3 separate regions of the Homo sapiens genome follow, and all the other regions are linked to region 3. The links are contacts of gene promoters, found by promoter capture Hi-C in blood cells and fetal thymus (Javierre and others, 2016). All regions are on one chromosome and are shown on one strand. The core of a region is centred on a gene start or on the middle of the fragment in contact, and the rest is flanking DNA. Distances in the headings are between cores, read along the strand shown.

Region 1 (3,268 bases), core at 412-2,911, 150 kb after region 3:
CAGATATCCAAACATTCTCATTGCATTTTATGAAAGTAGGCTTAAGGAGAGACTGAATTCTCCATCAGTGGTGAAGAGGTGAGGAAGGGTGTGTATGTGGCATGACACATGAAATGTGGTATAAAACTTTCTCGCTAGGCACGTACATAGCCTGACAGTGAGTTCTCAAAACTTTTTTTTTCTTTTGAGCAGCAGAACTTTGTTTTTCCATGAAATCTTAAGAGAGGGCTTGATGAAAGAGAGAAAAGGAGAGCCATCTGGTTAGAGTGGGTTGCCTGGTGCTCCAAACCCACTCACCCATGCCCCTCCTTACTGATCCTAAGGGTCTGGAGGGCACAGGCGTTCATGCAGTTCTTGCCTCCTGCTCCTCCCTGCTGTAGTCCTGCTGCTTTGCTGTTTCGCATCCTACAACACTCTTTCCTCCTTCCTTTTTTTTTTTTTTTTTTTGAGATGGAGTCTTGCTCTGTTGCTCAGGCTGGAGTGTAGTGGCACGATCTCAGCTCACTGCAACCTCTGCTTCCTGGGTTGAAGCAATTCTCCTGCCTCAGCCTCCCAAGTGGCTGGGATTACAGGCACACACCACCACACCCAGCTAACTTTTCTTTTTTTTTGTATTTTTAGTAGAGACGAGGTTTCACCATGTTGGCCAGGCTGGTCTCGAACTCCTGACCTCAAGTGATCCGCCCACCTCGGCCTCCGAAAGTGCTGGGATTACAGGCATGAGCCACTGTGCCTGGTCTCCTCCCTTCTTTACTAGGTTAATTCCTAACTACCCACAGATCCTCACTGATGGGTTACTGCCTCGTTCCCTTGCTGTCAGGGAAAATGTCCCTAAAACATGTTTAGTGAAGCAATTAAATACATCTTAATTTCATGGTTTCTGGGGCTCATTTCAAGTCCTTCTCCTCCTATTCATATAGACTAGCTGTCACAAAGGCGGGTTTCACGACCAAGAAGACAGTATGAGATACCTCCAGGTAGAGTCAGTTGCTTAAATGTCTACTTTACAAGCTATTAAGGAGGTCTAAGTATCTTCCCTACAGAACGGCTATTTAAATTTTGCCCTGGAGCCACCCTTTATCTAGTAAAGTTGGAATCTGAAGGCAAGTTAAGGAGGATGGAGTTAGTGAGAGAACACCATGTACCTTTTATTTAGAGCACCTGTGTCAAAACCATGTTTTACATTTGTGTGATTTTGTATCATTTGCTCTTCTCCAACTGTAAACTCCATGAAGGCAAGACATGACTGTTTTTCTCAGTGTTGTACCTTGCACAGCACCCTCAAACATAGCAGTGCTCAATAAATATCTGTTGAGGCGGGTGCAGTGGCTCACGCCTATAATCCCAGCACTTTGGGAGGCCGAGGCAGGTGTATCACCTGAGGTCAGGAATTCGAGATCAGCCTGGCCAACATGGCGAAACCCTGTCTCTGCTAAATACAAAAAACTAGCCAGGCGTGGTGGTGCGTGCCTGTAATCCCAGTTACTCAGGAAGCCGAGGCAGGAGAATCGCTCGAACCTGGGAGGCAGAGGTTGCAGTGAGCCAAGATTGTGCCACTGCACTCCAGCTTGGGAGACAGAGCAAGACTCCGTCTCACACACACAAAATAATAATAATAATAATAATAATAATAATAATAATAATAAAAAATACCTGTTGAGTGAATGAACATTTTAAGCCATTAACAACAACAACAAAAAGAAAACCCTAATTGCCAAAGAAAATATTTTACAATTCTCTTTTTGTCCCTATTTAAAGGTTATCAATAGTGGAAAACAAAAGTTGAACACAAAGTACAAAAGTGATTCTAAAACAGCTTTCTCCTAAGAAACACCTTAGCAATCATGTCCCAGCAGGTGGACAGAGAGATGACCTAATGAGGTCTTTGGCAGCTCAAGGGGTTGTGATTCATTCCCTGAGGCTCAATTCATTCCCAACCTTCAATCCTCCTCTGGGGCAGGAGAGATACCACAAGGTCAGGAAGCACAAAAGCCTAATGTAAAAATCTAAAAATGTGTTGCCCAAACTGTACAGACACCATTTAAGTTTACCTTCCACCACTGCCAAGTTCTCAACGTGACCTGAGAGGGGGTAATTGATGCTTCATTCAGTTAAAAATTGTAAAGTTATGATTCACCAACAAAAGGAACTATGTCAGTGTTAATAAAAAATATAATTGGGCTTACTAAGTGTGTGAACAGCTTCAAGTATCATCTTAATCACATCTGGTGAGATTAGGAATTTTAATTTGTATTTGAGATGAAGGGTGACATAGGCTGCTTGCTCTTTAGTTGGGGAGGGAAACACAAAAGCAGGGTGCACCTCTAGCTGATACTGCAATAAAGCTCCAGTAAAAACCATGGATTACTTAGAGAGTGTGGGATGCTGTATTTAAGGGGAAGTCTGAAGAGGGACTTGCTGTTTTACTTACAAGCTCTCTCACTACTCCATCCTCCTTAACTTGCCTTCAAATTCCAACTTTACTAGAGAAAGGGTGGCTCCAGGGCAAAATTTAAATCGCTGTTCTGCAGGGAAGGTACTTAGACCTCCTTAATAGCTTGTAAAGTGGACATTTAAGCAACTGACTCTTTACCTGGAGGTATCTCATGTTGCCTTCTTGGTCATGAATCCTGCCTTTGTGACAGCTAGTCTATATGAATAGGAGGTGAGGGACTTTAAAGGAGCCCCAGAAGCCATGAAATTAAGAAGTATTTAATTGCTTCACTGAAAATGTCATGATCCATGGTTCCATGGTTTAATTTTACCATCCGTAAGAGCAGAGGCTGGCCAGGTGTGGTGGCTCACGCCTGTAATCTCAGCACTTTGGGAGGCCGAGGCGGGTGGATCACAAGGTCAGGAGATCGAGACCATCCTAGCTAACACGGTGAAACCTCGTCTCTACTAAAAATACAAAAAATTAGCTGGGCGTGGTGGCGGGTGCCTGTAGTCCCAGCTACTCAGGAGGCTGAGGCAGGAGAATGGTGTGAACCGGGAAGGCAGAGCTTGCAGTGAGCTGAGATCACGCCACTGCACTCTAGCTTAGGCGATAGAGCGAGACTCTGTCTCAAAAAAAAAAAAAAAAAAGAACAGAGGCCATGGTGTTGTGACAAAGGTGAGAAAATGCAATGGAAAAAGGAAGGAAGTACAGAGGCATAAATAAGGGCCTTGGCTTTGGAGTTGAATCCAGCCTCTATTACATACTGGTTGGCCAAGCAGTTGGCCTCTTAGCCCTGGTTTCTTTGTCTGAAAAATGGGAGATGAAGATACT
Region 2 (2,973 bases), core at 335-2,834, 170 kb after region 3:
TGGCTAATTTTTGTATTTTTAGCAGGGACAGGGTTTCACCATGTTGATCAGGCTGGTCTTGAACTCCTGACTTCAGGTGATCCAACCACCTCGGCCTCCCAAAGTGCTGGGATGATAGGCGTGAGCCACAGAGTAGTTTGTTAAATATCAATAACTGACAGAATCGGCCTACTCAGGCTTCAGATCTGAGAAGTTACAGAGATCACCACATTATTACCTAGTCATCCAACAGTAGACGTAATAGTGAAGATTCTGATGATGATAACAACACTAAAATATTAATAGCTAACACATATTGAACACTGTGCTAAGCAGTTGCAAGGAATTAACTCATTTAATCCTAATATTAAGCCCCCTTTTTATTAATAAACATTTTATGATAGAATAGTAAACTAATATTGACACTTTATTATCAACTGAAGTTTATAATTTATTCAAATTTCCTTAGTTTTCCCCTAATGTCCTTTTTTTTTCTTTTTTTCTGAGACGGAGTCTCACTCTGTTGCCCAAGCTGGAGTGCAGTGGTGCAATCTCGGCTCACTGCAACCTTGGCCTCCTGGGTTCAGGCAATTCTCGTGTCTCAGCATCCCAAGTAGCCGGGATTACAGGTGCCCGCCACCACACCTGGCTAACTTTTTTTGGTGTTTTTTTGTAGAGATCAGGTTTCACCATGTTGGCCAGGCTGGTCACAAACTCCTGATCTCAAGTGATCTGCTTGCTTCGGCCTCCCAAAGTGCTTGGGATTACAGGCATGAGCCACTGCTCCCGGTCCTAATGTTGTTTTTCTATTTCAGAATCCCATCTATCACATTACATTTAGTCATCATATTTCCTTATGCTCTGACAATTTTAGCCCTCTCCCCTTTAATTAAATTTTATTTTGGCCAGGTGCGGTGGCTCACGCCTATCATCTTAGGACTTTGGGAGGCCGAGGCGGGTGGATCACCCAAGGTCAGGAGTTCGAGACCAGCCTGACCAACATGGAGAAACCCCCGTCTCTACTAAAAATACAAAATTAGCCAGGTGTGGTGGCACATGCCTGTAATCCCAGCTACTCGGGAGGCTGAGGCAGGAGAATCGCTTGAACCCGGGAGGCGGAGGTTGCAGTGAGCTGAGATTGTGCCATTGCACTCCAGTCTGGGCAACAAGAGTGAAACTCCGTCTCAAAAAAAAAAAATTTTTTTTATTGTATTTTTTTGATAATAGTTTTATTGAGCTATAACTCACATACCATACAACTCACCCATTTAAAGTTCGTAACTCGGCTGGGCGTGGTGGCTGATGCCTGTACTCAGGAGGCTGAGACACAAGAATCGCTTGAACCCGGGAGGCGGAAGTTGCAGTGAGCCAAGATTGTGCCACTGCACTCCAGCCTGGGCGACAGAGTGAGACTCCATCTTAAAAAAAAAGTGCATAACTCAATGGTTTCCTAGCATACTCACAGAGCTGTGCAAGAATCTGGGAACATTTTCATCACCCCAAAAAGAAGTCTTGTATCCTTTACCTATCACCCTCAACTATCTCTCCTTTACCCCAGCCCTAGGAAAGCACTAATCTATTTTCTGTCTCTAAAAAACTGCCTATTCTGGATATTTCATGTAACTGGAATCATATAAAATATAGTATTTTGTGGCCAGTTTCTTTCACTTACCATGTTTTCAAGGTTCGTCCATATTGTGGCATGTATCAGTCCTTCATTTTTATAGCCAATAATATTCCATTGCATATATATACCACATTTAGTTTATCCATTCATCAACTGATGGTTGTTTGAGCTATTTCCACCTCTTGGTTATTGTGAATAATACTGCTGTGAACATTCACACACAAGGTTTTGTGCAGACATATGTTTTCATTTATCGGGTATATTCCTGGGAGTGGAATTGCTGGGCCAAGTAGTAACTCTATGTTTATCTTTTCGAGGAACTGCCAGACTGGTTTCCAAAGTGGCAGTACCATTTCACATTCCTATTTAGTCCCCTTTTCACAGATAACAAAAAATTGAAGCCCACAGGGATTAAGTAATTTGCCAACGCATGGTAATGGGATGGCCAACCCAGGTGGTCTGTTGACTGTACCTCGCTGATGGAGCCAAGGGAAACTGAGTTAACTCTGACCTCACCATGTCTGCTTCTGGACCTTTTGGGAAGGGTGCCTTATTCTCTACATCCTCTCTAGATTTGGAGCCCACAAGTTAAAGGGGATGTGGAGAACAACAAAGAACCATAAAAAGAGAAATAAAGTTACTGCAAAAAATTTTTTGATAAGAAAATATTTAATACCCTGAGTTCTTTTAGCTTAACGAGAGAGCAAAGGTGCATATAGACAGTAGTTGAGGCTGGGCGTGGTGGCTCACGCCTGTAATCCCAGCACTTTGGAAGGCCAAGGTGGGTGGATCACTGGAGGTCAGGAGTTCGAGTCCAGCCTGACTAACATGGTGAAACCTTGTCTCTACTAAAAATATAAAAAATTAGCTGGGCGTGGTGGCGGGCACCTGTAATCCCAGCTACTTGGGAGGCTGAGGCAGGAGAATCACTTGAACCCGGGAGGCAGAGGTTGCAGTGAGCTGAGATCACACCACCGCACTCCAGCCTGGGTGACAGAGCGAGACTCTGTCTCAAAAAAAAAAAAAAAAAAGACAGTAGCCGACTAACATAAAAGGTTAATGTGATAAGAGTTCATGTGTGAGTCATTCTTTACCTCCTTGAATTAGAGGAAATACGATTTAATCTACAGAATATGTAAACATTAATAAAAACTTCCTCATCATTATGAGACACTGAAACTCTATAGGGACTCTTTGGAAACCCTTCAGGAATATTATTATTATGACTTAAAGTGTCCTAGCTAGGAGGCAGGAAGACGGACAAAATGACCAGTAGTCTCCTGGCCCTAGGACTTTAGAGATTTTGTGCAAATAAACATGATACAGTCTCTGGTCCACATACTTAAAGTCCTTTAACCAGGACTGAC
Region 3 (3,286 bases), core at 523-3,022:
CAGTCGGACCAGGCCCTGCTCTTCCTGGTACCCCAGCTACCTTGGCAAAGTGTGCCTGTAGACAAAGGCGCATCCCCGGTGTAGCCGGCCCTCTCCTTCCCTGGGCGGGACCCCTCCCCCGCAGGAATTAGAGGCATTACCCAGGTTACTACCCCCACCCCCAAATAGAGGCCCCCAAAATGTCCCTCAGCCAGATACCCCACGTGCAATCAGGCGCTGGTGCAGGCTGTGGTCGAGGTTCTCCTGCCCAGACCTGGGGCGGGGGGCTGTGTCACCCCAAGCCGGCAGAGGCTGTGGGGTGATCCTACAGCCTGGACCGCCGCCTCCTCATGCCCTTCGCTCATCCACGGGAGCCCAGCCCAGGCAAACTAACGCGCACTCGGCTTTCAAGGGCACAAGGTTGGGGGCGCTCTCAAGTCCGGCTCCCAGGACTACGGAAGGAGAACCCCCAGTCAAGGACGCACGCTTCTCCATCAAGCCTCCGAAACTTTGAGGGGCTGCTGGTGTGCAGCGTCTCTCCCGCTGACAGGTGCGCCCCGCGGCAGGGCCACACGCAGCGGCATGGAAACTTGTGCGCCCAACGGGGCTCCTCCTCTTGTGCCCGGCCGCCCTCCGGGCCCCTCCAGGCCGGCCAGGGGAGGGGAGCCCACTCCCCCGGACACGTGCTGCCGCGGCCCGGCTAACCCGCAGGAACGTGGGCGCCTGGTACCTTGGTGCCCGGACAGGTGCAAACCCCCGGGAGGTCGTAGAAGGTGCGGGGGAGGGGTACCCCAGCCAGCCTGGAGCCCCGCACCGGCGTCCGCCTCCTAATTCATTCACAAAACAGGAGCCGCCGGGGAGGAGGGAGGCGAGGCTGGAAGAGGAGAGGATGCAGGAAGAAAGGGAGGAGGGGTCAGTGGGGAGGGGGCTGCAGGAACGGCCGCCGGGAAGCCCGGGGCTGCCGCCGCCCCCAACCCGCCTCCCCGCGCCGGACGCGGCGCCCGCAGGGCTGGGAGCTGGCCGGGTGCGGGGGGCTCGGCGAGAGGCACCCCTGCCACCCGGCGCGCCCCGGCCTCGGCGCAGCCCCGCGCGGCCCTCCCCTCCTGGGTGCCGGCCGGCCCGCGCTCACCGTGCCGCCGGCTGCCGCGCTCCGGAGCTCAGCAGGCCCGCGGCGGCTCCATGCCCCTCCTCCCGCTCCGCTCCGCGCCGCCGCGCGCTCCGACTGCCGCCTGCCCAGCCGAGCCGCCCTTAAGTACCCGGCGCGTGCCCGCCAGGAGAGGCGCCTCCCCCGGCCCTGGGGCCGGGAAAGTTGACCAGAGTGGGAGGGCCCCCGCGGGCGCACCCCCGACCCCGCGCGGTCCCAGGGAGCGCCACAAGCCAGCGCTCGGCGGGGACGCCTAGTCCCGGGTGGACGCGGCTCCGGCTCGCAAGACTCGCAGCCCCTGCGCCCTCTCCGAAGCTGGGTCCCCCGAGTGGGGCCGAAGGCCACGCGGCTCTGCAATCGCCCTGGGACCAGCTGCCAAGGCAAGACGGTCATTGGGCTCAACCTAGAACCTGAAGCGTCGTTAACTTTCCAGATACCACGCAGGGACTTCCAAAATTGTTACTCTCCCTCCCCGCCCCCACGCCCCGCTCTCTAACCCGCAAAACCTACTCACCCTGCAAGGAAGGCGAGCTGAGAGCACTCTTCCCCGACTTCTGCACGCGAAGGGGCAGTTCGCTGTCTAGGGGGCTCCCGAAAGCCAAGGCAGCAAAACCTTCCTGCTGGCAGGAAAGAGGCGCTGAAGAGAATTGTCAAATGTAAAAAGGCTGGTCAAAGAAGGTGTTAACAATTGTGACAGCTTAGCTTTGAATTCCGCAGTGGGGCGCTGATGACTTTAAGGCGGTTTGCAAAAGCTGCAAACGGTTTTGTAGGAACCTTGGAGGTTCCGGTGTCTTAAAGCCAAAACAATTCCTCCTCTTCTTTTTCACACCTTTATTTCCGACATCCATGACCTCCTAAATTCCCAACTGACCTTATCGACAGTAGTTTTCAGGTCCCTAAAAGATAGTGCTAGACTCGAGTAAAGTGAGATGAAGTGAGTTGGGGTGCACTGGGGTGGGGTGAGATCGAGGAGGGGGGAGAGTTGTTAGCAGAGACAAGAAGTTTAGAACCAGCTGAAGGCGATGAGTTTTTACATCTCAGGAAAACTTGAAGAGAAATTATAATTAATAACTAGTTTTTAAAAAATGAGTGGCCGGGCGCCGTGGCTCAAGCCTGTAATCTCAGCACTTTCGGCGTTACGGGCACCATGCCCGTAATCCCAGCTACTCGGGAGGCTGAGGCAGGAGAATCGCTTGAACCCCGCAGGTGGAGGTTGCAGTGAGCTGAAATCGCACCACTGCACTCCAGCTTGGGCAGCAGAGCGAGACTCCGTCTCCAAAAAAAAAAAAAAAAAAAAAAAAAAAAAAAACCAAAAAACAGAGTTTACCTGTTTTCCAAATACACCTGATATAATTTCTATCACTTCTTCCCAAGCTGCAACAAATTTATAGGCACCTGAGCTGCAGTCTATAAACTTCTCCTCTCGCAAGTTTTAGGGGCTCAGGGACTTGCCTGCCCACCATTGCTCAGTCTGGGCCACAGACCTCACACCTCAGTCCCCGCAGGCAAGCAAAGACCCCAGGCACACCTACTCCACACAATCCCATCTTACATTATTGGCCAGGCACAGTGGCTCACACCTGTAGTCCCAGCACTTTGGGAGGCTGAAGATGGAGGATCGCTTGAGGCCAGGAGTTCAAGACCAGCCTGGGCAACAAAGCGAGACTTCCCCCGTCTCTACAAAAATTAAAATTAAAAAATTAGCCAGGGCCGGGTGCAGGCTCACGCCTGTAATCCCAACACTCTGGGAGGCCGAGGTGGGCGGATCACGAGGTCAGAAGTTAGAGACCAGCCTGGCTAATATGGTGAAACCCTATCTCTACTAAAAAATACAAAAATTAGCCAGGCATGGTGGCACGTGCCTGTAGTCCCAGCCACTGGGAAGGTTGAGGCAGAAGAATCGCTTAAACCCAGGAGACAGAGGTTGCAGTGGGCCAAGATTATGCCACTGTACTCCAGCCTGGGCGACAGAGTGAGACTCCATCTCAAAAAATAAAAATAAAAAAAAAAAGAAAAAGAAAAGAAAAGAAAAAAAAAAAAAACATTAGCCAGGCATGGTGGAGTGTGCCTGTAGTCCCAGCTACTAGGGAGGCTGAGGCAGGAGAATTGCTTGAGCCCAGGAGGTCAAGGCAACAGTGAGCTATGATCGAACCACTACACTCC

What was found. The method cuts DNA at HindIII sites, captures the fragments that hold promoters and counts their contacts. A CHiCAGO score of 5 or more calls a contact.
Region 1: a fragment that was not itself captured here is called in contact with the fragment with the promoter of HAS3 in region 3 in 1 of 17 cell types (endothelial precursors); the score reaches 6.0 in endothelial precursors.
Region 2: a contact is called between a fragment that was not itself captured here and the fragment with the promoter of HAS3 in region 3, in 2 of 17 cell types (endothelial precursors and megakaryocytes). The highest score is 7.2, in endothelial precursors.

Annotation. Positions count from the first base shown.
Region 1 is chr16:68,951,429-68,954,696 of GRCh38, reverse strand. The region is part of intron 14 of TANGO6 (transport and golgi organization 6 homolog); the gene reads right to left. Among named protein-coding and RNA genes, the nearest start is that of TANGO6, 110 kb to the right of the region's middle. The HindIII fragment of the contact is 6,801 bases long and covers 1-3,268 here.
Region 2 is chr16:68,930,300-68,933,272 of GRCh38, reverse strand. All of the region lies in intron 14 of TANGO6 (transport and golgi organization 6 homolog), which reads right to left. Among named protein-coding and RNA genes, the nearest start is that of TANGO6, 88 kb to the right of the region's middle. The HindIII fragment of the contact is 4,573 bases long and covers 1-2,973 here.
Region 3 is chr16:69,104,139-69,107,424 of GRCh38, reverse strand. It overlaps HAS3 (hyaluronan synthase 3), which reads right to left and starts at 1,772. Exons shown (of 4, transcript NM_001199280.2): 1 at 1,638-1,772. RefSeq lists a silencer at 1,146-1,425 and an enhancer at 1,559-2,107. The HindIII fragment of the contact is 7,234 bases long and covers 1-3,286 here.